2 separate regions of the Homo sapiens genome follow, and region 1 is linked to region 2. Evidence: promoter capture Hi-C in human tissues and cell types (Jung and others, 2019). All regions are on one chromosome and are shown on one strand. The core of a region is centred on a gene start or on the middle of the fragment in contact, and the rest is flanking DNA. Distances in the headings are between cores, read along the strand shown.

Region 1 (5,195 bases), core at 1,303-3,802, 520 kb after region 2:
ACTCACCAGGTGTTTACTGAATGTCCACTCTGTGCCAGGCTTTGGGTTAGTGCATCGATACGTTGGAGAACAAGGCAGAGGCTGTCTCTGCCACCATGGTGCTTACAGTCTAGCTGGTGACAAGAGAATTAAACTGTGTCTCATGTCCTGGCTGGCTGAGAGACATTGCTAAGGCATTTCCTTTGTCTGGGTACCAGAGTTCTTACTGTTATTGTTCGACACATACTGATCAAGCCGGGGATGTTTCCCAATTCCAAGCTAAGGGTTGAGGTCGAGGTACACAAGGGTCTTCTTGGTTGGGAGCTTATGGACACATTGAGGAGACAGAGGAAAACAGCAAAAGAATGTCCCGGAGTACATGATTAATTGGCAATGAACACGTGTATTGTTAAGATGATGTGTAGTAGAACCACCACCACCCTCCAATCTCAAGTGGCTTAAAGTAAAAGTCTATTTCTCTCCTGCCTAAAAGTCCATCTGTGGGTGAGGAAGGGAGTTCTCTGGGACGCAGGCTGATGGAAGCACCTTCATCTTCAACGTATGTTCCCAAAGTCACATCCAACTGATAGACAGAGGAAAACAGGAAGTACAGAAACTGCATAGGACATGCTTGTAGGCCAGGACTGGAAGTGATGCACATCACCTTTGCTCACAATCTCAGCAAAGGTGAACTCAGAACCTGCCAAGCTGCAAAGGGGGCTTGAAAAGGTAGCCTCTGGCTGGGTGACCGCTTTCCAACAACTACACTACCTATGGAAGGGAAGCAGAGTCTTGGTTGAATAGTCAACCTCTCTGCCAATATGAGTAATCACAACAACGCATGATGGATGCTTAAGAGGAGAAGCTCAGGGTCCTGTGAGTGCACACAGCAGGGGACCTGTTTTGAGGATGTGTTCTCATGTAAGAAACCACCCTCACAACTCAGTGGATTAAAATATAAATTTATGATGATCTCCCACAGTTCTACAGGTTAACTGGGAGTTCAATATGTTTCTTTACTCGCATGTATAACACCGCCGCTGGGATGGCCAGATCAGCTGATGCTAGCCAGGTGTCTCTCTCTCTTTCTCCCAACCTGGCCAAAATGACCTTCTTCCTAGCATGGCGGACTTGGGGCAGTGAGACTCGTTACATGGCAGCTGGCTTCCCCTGTGTAAGCATTCTCAGAAACCCAGACAGATGTTGTAAAGCTTCTTATGACCTGGCCACGGAGGTCCCAGGGCATCACTGCCACAGCATTCCACTGGTTGAGCAAGTGACCAGGGCCAGCCCATATTCAAAGGGCGAGGAATCGGCTCCACCTATAAATGGGAGAAGCAGTGTGAGAGCAGCTCTCTGTGGGGGCCAGAGAGCACAGGGCCAACCTCATCTTGGTGATCATGGAAGTCTACCTGGAGGGGGTGGCATGAACCCACTTGTGTAAGGTGGGGAAGATCATAGTCAAGCTCCTCAAAGATTTGGGTGAGCTCAATGGGAAAGAGAAGCATGGAGAAATCCATTGTGGGTGGTGCCTGAGAGCAAAGGGCACTGAGGGGGAACTGAGACTGGAGAGACTGGCAGGGAACCCATGGAGGGTTTGCAAGCCACAGCAAGGAGCCTGGATCTCAACTGAGGGCAGTGGGAAGAATGGAAGAGTTTGAGGCCAGGAGGTGATCTGGACACATCAGCACCATAGGAAGGTCCCTTTAGCTCCTGAGCAGGGAACAGATTGGAGAGAAGCCAGTCTGGAGGCAAGAACAGTTTTAGAGAAGTTGCAGGAGTTGCATCCTTCAGGGTGTCCGCTGCTTCCTTATCTCATTATCTTCTCTTAGGAGGGAATACGTAGGACAGAAGAGATCAGTCATTCACATTTTACAGATGAGGAGGCTGAGATCTGGACAGGGAAGGAGATTCACCTGGTGTCACCATGAGCCGGTTCTACAGAAGCAGCCACCAAATATTCCCTTACACAGGCAACTGCATCTATGATCCTCATGATAGGTATCCTTTTCTATAAGGCCAACATCAGAACTCTGCCCTTTTGACTCCCGGGCAAGGGACTTTCCCCTTGAAGGTCCTCTGTAAGATGATAAAACCCAGCCTGGAGTGAGACTGTGAGGAGGCAACAATGGTAAATAGGCGAGGATGCAAGCTTGGTGCCGGCGTGGTTCAGTCTGGTAGAAAGGGTGCAGACTGTGGGTCCAGAAAACAGGTATTTGAGTTAAGCACTGCTACTGGCTGGCTGAGGGACATCTGTAAGGGATTCACTTTTTCTGGGTACCAGAGTCCTTACTGTTATTGTTCCACAGATACTGATCAAGCCTGGGATGTTTCTCAATTCCAAGCTGGGGGTTGAAGTCAAGGCACACAAGGGTCTTCTTGGCTGGGAGCTTATGGACACATTGGGGAGACAGGGGAAAACAGCAAAAGAATGCCCCAGAGTAGGTGATTAATTGTCAAATGACCATGGACAAGATATAGGAATTCAGAAGGAGAGACTCCTGGGGATGAGGGTGGTCATGGAGAGCTTCCAGGAAGAGGTGAGATTTGACTGAGGCCTAGAAGGATGGGTAGTATCTGAACAGAAAAGGAAAGAGGAGAGGGCACAAATGGGGAGCATGGAGTGAGCATTCATTCCCCAAATGCTTATTGTGGGCTCACATATTAGCAGCACTGCGCTGACCTGTGTGTGCAGAAGGAATGTGGGTCACACAGGCTCGAGAATGTTTAAGGCGTGGGCGTAGGGTGATGAGGAAAGAGGTCTGGCTAAATCAGAGATTTCTGATCCAGTGTGAAGTGATGAAACCTGAGGACCACATTCCCAAGCCCTTGAATTGCCACACCAAGGAGTCTCATTCTTGTTCAACAGTCAATGGAAGCCATGGTAGAACACTGAGGAAGGCGTGGCATCTGGAAAAAGTGTTGCCGATAATGTCACTTATTCTACAGGTAATGTTAGACGAACCACCAGCAGCAGCCCCAAAGCCTCACAGGAACATAACCTCTGCCTATTTAACATAATTGTGAGAAGTTGGTAACATCAAGAGCCTTCATTCGTAAATATCTGTGCCAGACTCTGCTCCAGGCACTAGGGAAATAAAGGTTAATAAGGCACTACAGAGCAATTTGAAAACTGCCGTGCCCTGTACAAAAGAAAGAGATGTGTTTAGGATTCTTTGGTCTTGGTCTCATCTCTGACCCTCACTGGATCTTGGGCCATGGCCAAATGTCTCAGCTACCCTGAGCCTCAATTCTTTAATCTATCACATGAGAGAGGGAAACTCTGTGTTCTCAAAGGCTTCTTCTAGCTCTTTATGTTCTGTGAGTCTTCCTCAGATAATAGGAAGACTTCTATTGTGTTGGTGCAAAAGTAATTGCATTTTTTGCCATTAAAAATAATTGTGCAATTATTTCTTTGCACATATTATTATTTCTTTGCACAAAAATAAATGGTGTGATTATTTCTGTGCACTAACCTAATAGAAAATGAATCTGGCTGCATTATCCAGCCTAAGTTGAAAGAATGACATGTAACAGACAAGGAGACTAGGCAGAAGATCATCTCATGGTTGTCTTTTTGTGCATTTTGCAGTTTTCCACTCACATCATCCCCCATCCTCCATCACCTGAGAAATGGGGGCCCGAGGAGTCGATGCCTTTGGTTTTGATCGGTCACCTTAACGCATTCACCTCAATTCATTCACCTCCCTAGGCCTGTTTCTACAAGCTGAGTCTGAAAGAGCTTTTCACACTTGGGAAAATATTGGTGATGAGAGAAGCCAGAGGATCTACACAGGAATATGAAGACATTTGTGAAGTACAATTTCCTTCCTCTTGAGTGAGAGCGGCTAGAACAAGTCAGCATCCTGGTCAGTTCCTGTTCCATTCCTTACTATGGGCTTAGCCAGTTTAGTACTCCTGGGATCATCAGCTGAGTGATGGGAGAAGGAGCGCTCTTTCTCAGGGAGCTCCCAGTCTCAAAGGAAAACTCAGATCCTGCTTTGAGGGGTGTATTAGTCCATTCTTACACAGCCACAAAGAACTACCTGAGACTGGGTAATTTACAAAGAAAAGAGGTTTAATTGACTCACAATTCCTCAGATTGTACAGGAAGCATGGGTGGGGAAGCCTCAGGAAACTTACAATCATGGCAGAAGGGTGAAGGGGAAGCCAGCACCCTCTTCAGATGGCAAAGCAGGAGAGAGAGAGAGCGAAGGAGGAAGTGCTCCATGCTTTCAAACAACCAGGTCTCAAGAGAACTCTATCACAAGAACAACAAGGGGGAAGTCAGCCCTCATGACTCAATCACCTCCCACCATGCCCCTCCCCCAACATTAGGGAGGATTACAATTGAATATGAGGTTTGGGTGGGGACACAGAGCCAAACCACATCAGGGGATTGTTAGAAGAGAAGAGAGCACCCTAAGAGTCTGTCTGATCCAGTGAGTAGAAAACATACTTGCAAAAGTCACAACATATGCAGAGTTGAGGGTGAAGGCAGGATTGGAGAGTATAGAAAAAAGAAACTTAACAGTTACTTATGTAACCCCATGCCAGGTGCCGAATAGATAACAGACAGGCCCCTCCCAGCCACTGTAGGAGGTCGATCCTCATATGCCTGTTTTGTAAGTAAGGGCATGGAAGATTGGAGGAGGGAGGCAGCTCCCCTAAATCTTATACCTTGTTAAGTGCAAGAGTCAGGACTTGAATCCAGGTCCAGCTGAATACAGGCTATAGCCTTCTTCTGACCATTCCACAAACTCCAGAGAGTCCAGATGCCATCTCAGAGTAGGACGCACAGCAGGGTCTCAGTAAATATTTCCCAAATTATTGAAGGAAAGAATAGAAGAATGGCGAGTGAACTAGGTCAGTGCTTAAGCAACTGGGAGGCGATGCATCTTGAGTTATATTCAGATGCTGAACTGCAGAGGAAGATCAGGTCATCCCAACTCCTCTCTCCCCCAAGGGAGCTGACCACCTCACCAGGGTCATGGGGTGAGTTGGCTGAGGGGTTCGCGTTGCAGCAGGTGGGCTTAGGTGCTCCTCCCATCTTGCATGACTGGAGGGAATGGAGCGCCTCGAACTGGGATGAAGGAAAGAGCACACTCTCTCCCCTTCTGGCTCAATTTGCTCAGCAACAGCATAATGAAGCAATCAGTGGCATCTCTGACAGGCCTGGACACGCCCCAGCACACGATGGCAAATTCAGGCCTGTT
Region 2 (4,480 bases), core at 931-3,430:
TCCGGTACGTGGCGCACTCGTACCAGAGCCGGGTGCTGGCGCTGCAGCGGTACACGGCGATGCCCAGGCTGCGGTTGAGGTCAAAGCGGTAGAGAAAGCCGTTGACCGCCACCATCTCGGCCGTGCGGTCCTTGCTGCCCCCGGTGGGGCCGGCCCACCAGCGCTGCTCCTGCGCAGAGAAGCGGAACAGCAGGAAGCGCAGCGAGCCGCCGGTGACGAAGATTTCCTTGGCACGCACCGTGGCCGTGTGCGCCAGGGCGAACGTGTCACTGGGGAGCGGCGGGGCAAAGTCCCAGCGGTCCAGGCGGGGGTCGTAACGCTCCACCGAGTTCAGACACTCTCCGCCGATGGCATACAGGTGCCCGTCCAGGGCCACCAGCCGGCAGTGCGGCCGGGCCTGGTTCAGCGGGCACACCTCGCTCCAGATCCCCGTGAGCGGGTTGTAGCAGAAGACGCGGCTGGAGGGCTGGTGCCCGGGCCCCTGGCAGCCGGACACCACGAAGAGATAATTGAAGAGACTGCAGATGGCACAGCCCCGGGACACGGCCTCGGGGGGCATGCGAGCCAGCGGGCGCCAGACATCCTGCTCATCGTCATAGCAACAGAGGCCGCCGGAGTCTTCCTTGGGGCACACGTCAGCCACCACCAGGTACTGGCGGCCCCGGAGCCGGCGCTGCAGGATCAGCTCGCGCTCTGCCCCGCTCAGGCACCCGTAGATGTCCGGGCTGCGCAGCACCTGCAGGTAGTTTTCGCTCATCACCTTGTAGGCCGCCTCTTTCAGGGCCTCCAGGTTCTGCCTCTTGGCCAAGGTCAGCACCTCATAGCAATTGCCCAGATCCAGGCGGACCTGTGGGGCTGAAGCAGGGGTGAGCGGGATATGGAAGAAATTGGTCCCGGCCACCGGCTGCACATGGGGCTCCCGGCTGCTTCTGCCTAAGCCAGGCAGGGCGCCCGGGTCTGGGCAGGGTGGAGCGGGGAGCCGGAAGCCATCTGGCTGCAGCTGCAGCTCTGGGTTCTCCGCTATCTGCAGAAGGCTCTCCTTCCGGCTGAAGCCTCGGGTGGAGGGCCACGGCCCTGTCTGCGGGGAGGCGGCTCTTTCGGCTGCACCCTTTGTGTCACCGGCTTGGCCTCCCGAGGCAGCCCCTGTTCCCAGGGACCCTGGCGGTGGCCTAGGGGATGGAACCTCAGTCAGGGCTGCTGTCCTGGGAGCCAGCCTGCCCTGGAAGATGGCCTGAGAGGTAGATTCCACATAGTAGTCGTACACCTTGCCCTTGAGCCGGGGCTCAACCCCCTCCGCCTTCTGTATGAAATGCTCCTCCATTCGGACGCGGGCTATGGATGAGAAGGTATAGGAGGAGTTGGGGGCGCCCTCCTGCTGATGCAGGGTCAGGTCAACATCGGAGGCAGCCTCGAGAGCCCCAGCCTCTTCTCTGCTGACCCCTATCACACGGGTGAAGACCCAGCTCTGGTTCATGTCACTGCTGCCTTGCAAGGGAGCCACGTAGTGACAGTGGGGAGGTTCTAGTTGCCCCAGTCCTGGATGCTCACGGGGTTTACTGTCCTGCCATGGAGAAGGCTCACCACCGGCACAGCTGCCGTCGGCTGCTGCAATGAGTCCAGCTGGGGAGCTCTTCGGTTCGCTGCCCAAGCGGGGGAAATGGGGAGGGTCAGGGTTACTGCCAACAGCTGTTCTGGTTTCCTGGCTGGGGCAGCAAGGAGGCACCTGCTCAGAGTCCGAGCCCTGCCCGCCCCGCTCCTCACCTGAGCCTTTTCTCTGGGGCTTCCTGTCTGTGGAAGTGGCCCCCGTGACCAGGACATAGGGGCCTCTTGGATTCTCACAGCTGCAGCCCTGTGGTGCTTCAGCCCGCTTGCTGCTCCTCCGACGTCTTGGCCCCCTCAGGAGCACCCCAGGAGAAGCCTCCTGTACAGCAGGCTGCCCTGAGCCCTCTGCTTCCTCCTTGGCTTCTGCCTGGCCATTCCCACCCCACCGCTGGGCTGGGGCAGGCCTCGACTTGTACAGCCTGTAGGCCACAGTCACCAGGAGCAGGGCAGCGGCTGACAGCACCACCTTGCCGGTCAGCTGCATATCCAAATGCCAGTCCTGGGCCTCTGCTCCTCTGGGGAACATGCTTCTCCAGCCAACCTGGGGCTGAGGAATGTCAAGAATCTGATTAATAATTGCCCAGTAGGGACCAGTTCCTGGGTCCTGCTGAGCGGAGGGGAGGGAGTTCTGGGCTGGTTCTGGCTGGCCAGCCGAGGAGAGGAGAGGAGCAAAGGTGACTTTGAGCTGCAGAGGGTGGCCGCTGGGGCCCAGAGCTGGCAGATCCCAGCGGCTGGCCTCCTTCCATGCTTCCCTGGTGGCTGGGGTGGGGGGCCCGCCCAGGGGCTGAGCTTGTGATCAGCCACCTAAGCCAGCTCTGTGGTCAGCAGCTAGGGGATGTTAGGAGTATCCAGTGGGCATACAAAAGAGGAGGAAGCTCTTAACCAAACAGTCACCCGATGCCAGGAAATGCATGGGGTTGGTTATTCTTTATGTGTGTGCTTTATTTTCTCTTTTGCAAGTCCACTGGGCTCAGAGGCTTGGGTGTGGTGAGTCATGGGCAGGTGGAGCCCCAGTAGGCGTGGATGGGGTCATTCTTGTGAGGTCTGCTGGTCCTCACAGTGGGGTCAACTTTATGCTGGCCAAGCAGGGAACGGGAACATGGCAGTGGAGTCTGGAGCCAGGGCATGCAGCCAAGCCACCTGAGCCGGCCCTTGAGTGCCTCTGCCCTCCTTCCCTGCCTGACAAGTTTATTAAGAAAAACCAGCCTTTCTGAGAACAGTGGAGAAAGACATTGCATTAGTGCTCAGATCGGGGTTAGATGTGGACACATCTTCTCTTTTAAAACCAGACAATCTCCTACGGTGAAAGATTGAGGGAAGACTCACGTCTCCCAGACCCCCCCTCACCATTTCCCCTCCCCCATCACCAGTGCTGTGGGTCCTGGACCCAGACTACCTGGCTCTGCTACTTACCAACTATATGACCTTAGGCAAGAGACCTCACCGCTCTGTGCTTTGTCTGAAAAAGGAGGATGACAGCATACGCACCTCATCAGCTTGTGGGGAGAACTAAATGGGCTACTAGGAATAAACACTGGGGCAGAGCCCCCATCATGAAAGCTTAGTAAATATGAACTATTCTCTGCTTCTTCCTCCTTTTCCTCTTTCTGATCATCGGCACCATCATCGCTAGTATCAATTGTCATCAGAGGACCTTCCAAAGCACAGAACTAATTCTACCCTTCTCCTGACCAAGGTCCTCAAAGAGTCCCCAAAGTCCTGTGCAGGGGTCTCAAACTCTTGCTGCATATGGAGGCTGGGTAGGTAAAGTGAACAAGTAAGGACGTCTGTCCGCCCCACCCCAGCCGATGGTATCAGGCCCAGCATTGCCTCATCCTCCCACTGTCGCAAAAAGCTTAGAATCCCAGTAGTGACATAATCACTCTCAATTTTAAAATGTTGGCATCTGATTCAAAAATGAAACTGAAAAACACTGTGGGCCACAGGAAGCACACGCATGGGAGGAATTTGGCTCTGAAGGCTTTGACTCTAGGAGACAATCCTGACTCCCTATGCCGACGTTCACAACTCTCTGTGTACCAGCTTCGGTTTACTCTTCCAGATGCATCTCCTGATCACTGCCTAGCAAACCGGGCTCAGGGTGACTTCTTGGCAGGGAAGGCTGGTGGACATCCCTCTGGCCCATCAGAGTTGGGTAAAAGGCTGTGTCTGGGCCTTCTTCCCTGGTGCCTTCATCCGTCCAAGATCACCTTTTCTTCCTTTGGGTCTCGTGTTCTCTGATGCTCCTCTTTTAGGCTTGGCCACAGCTGCTGCATCGTAAAGTGCATTGTGTGCAAGATCTGGTCTGCTGCATTCTAAGTCCTTGAGGACAGAGGCTGTAGCTGGCTCAGCTGTGGACCCTAAGCCTATGTGGGGCCCTGCACCATTTGGGACAATAGCCAGCAGGGATTGTCTTTACACTGAGTGGATTGGGGTGAACACTCGGGATGAAGCTCATCTCATCTCGTCTCATGCTCACAGCCCCTTTGGGGAGAGACACGATTGTTATCCCCATTTGACAGCAGCGGTAACTGGACCTCCAAGATTATGTCAACTGGCTTGTAAATGGGGACTCAAAACCTTGTTTGCAGAGTCCAGAGTTTTACAGACCTGACTTCATCCAGCAGGTGTGACCTCTTAGAAAGTCAGGTGTCCTCAGCCTGTCCCACTGGTAGCTGTCAAGAGGGGTCCCCTGAATTCTCTTTCTTTCCATCCTGGTCAAAAGAGTGCCTATCAATGCAATGTGCACAAGGATCACAAGGGGTGCTTGTTAGAGATGCAGCTTGCCTGCCTGCCTGCCTGCCTGCCTGCCTGCCTGCCTGCCTGCCTGCCTGCCTTCCTTCCTTCCTTCCTTCCTTCCTTCCTTCCTCCCTCCCTC

What was found. Contacts are between HindIII fragments. The study calls those that stand out against the background at their distance.
Region 1: a fragment that was not itself captured here is called in contact with the fragment with the promoter of KLHDC7A in region 2 in 1 of the 25 tissues and cell types used here (dorsolateral prefrontal cortex).

The regions. Positions count from the first base shown.
Region 1 is chr1:17,958,009-17,963,203 of GRCh38, reverse strand. No RefSeq gene overlaps it. Among named protein-coding and RNA genes, the nearest start is that of LINC01654, 110 kb to the left of the region's middle. The HindIII fragment of the contact is 3,977 bases long and covers 564-4,540 here.
Region 2 is chr1:18,478,630-18,483,109 of GRCh38, reverse strand. KLHDC7A (kelch domain containing 7A) reads right to left here and starts at 2,180. Exons shown (of 1, transcript NM_152375.3): 1 at 1-2,180. The coding sequence starts at 2,128. RefSeq lists enhancers at 1,358-2,229, 2,230-3,102. The HindIII fragment of the contact is 16,937 bases long and covers 1-4,480 here.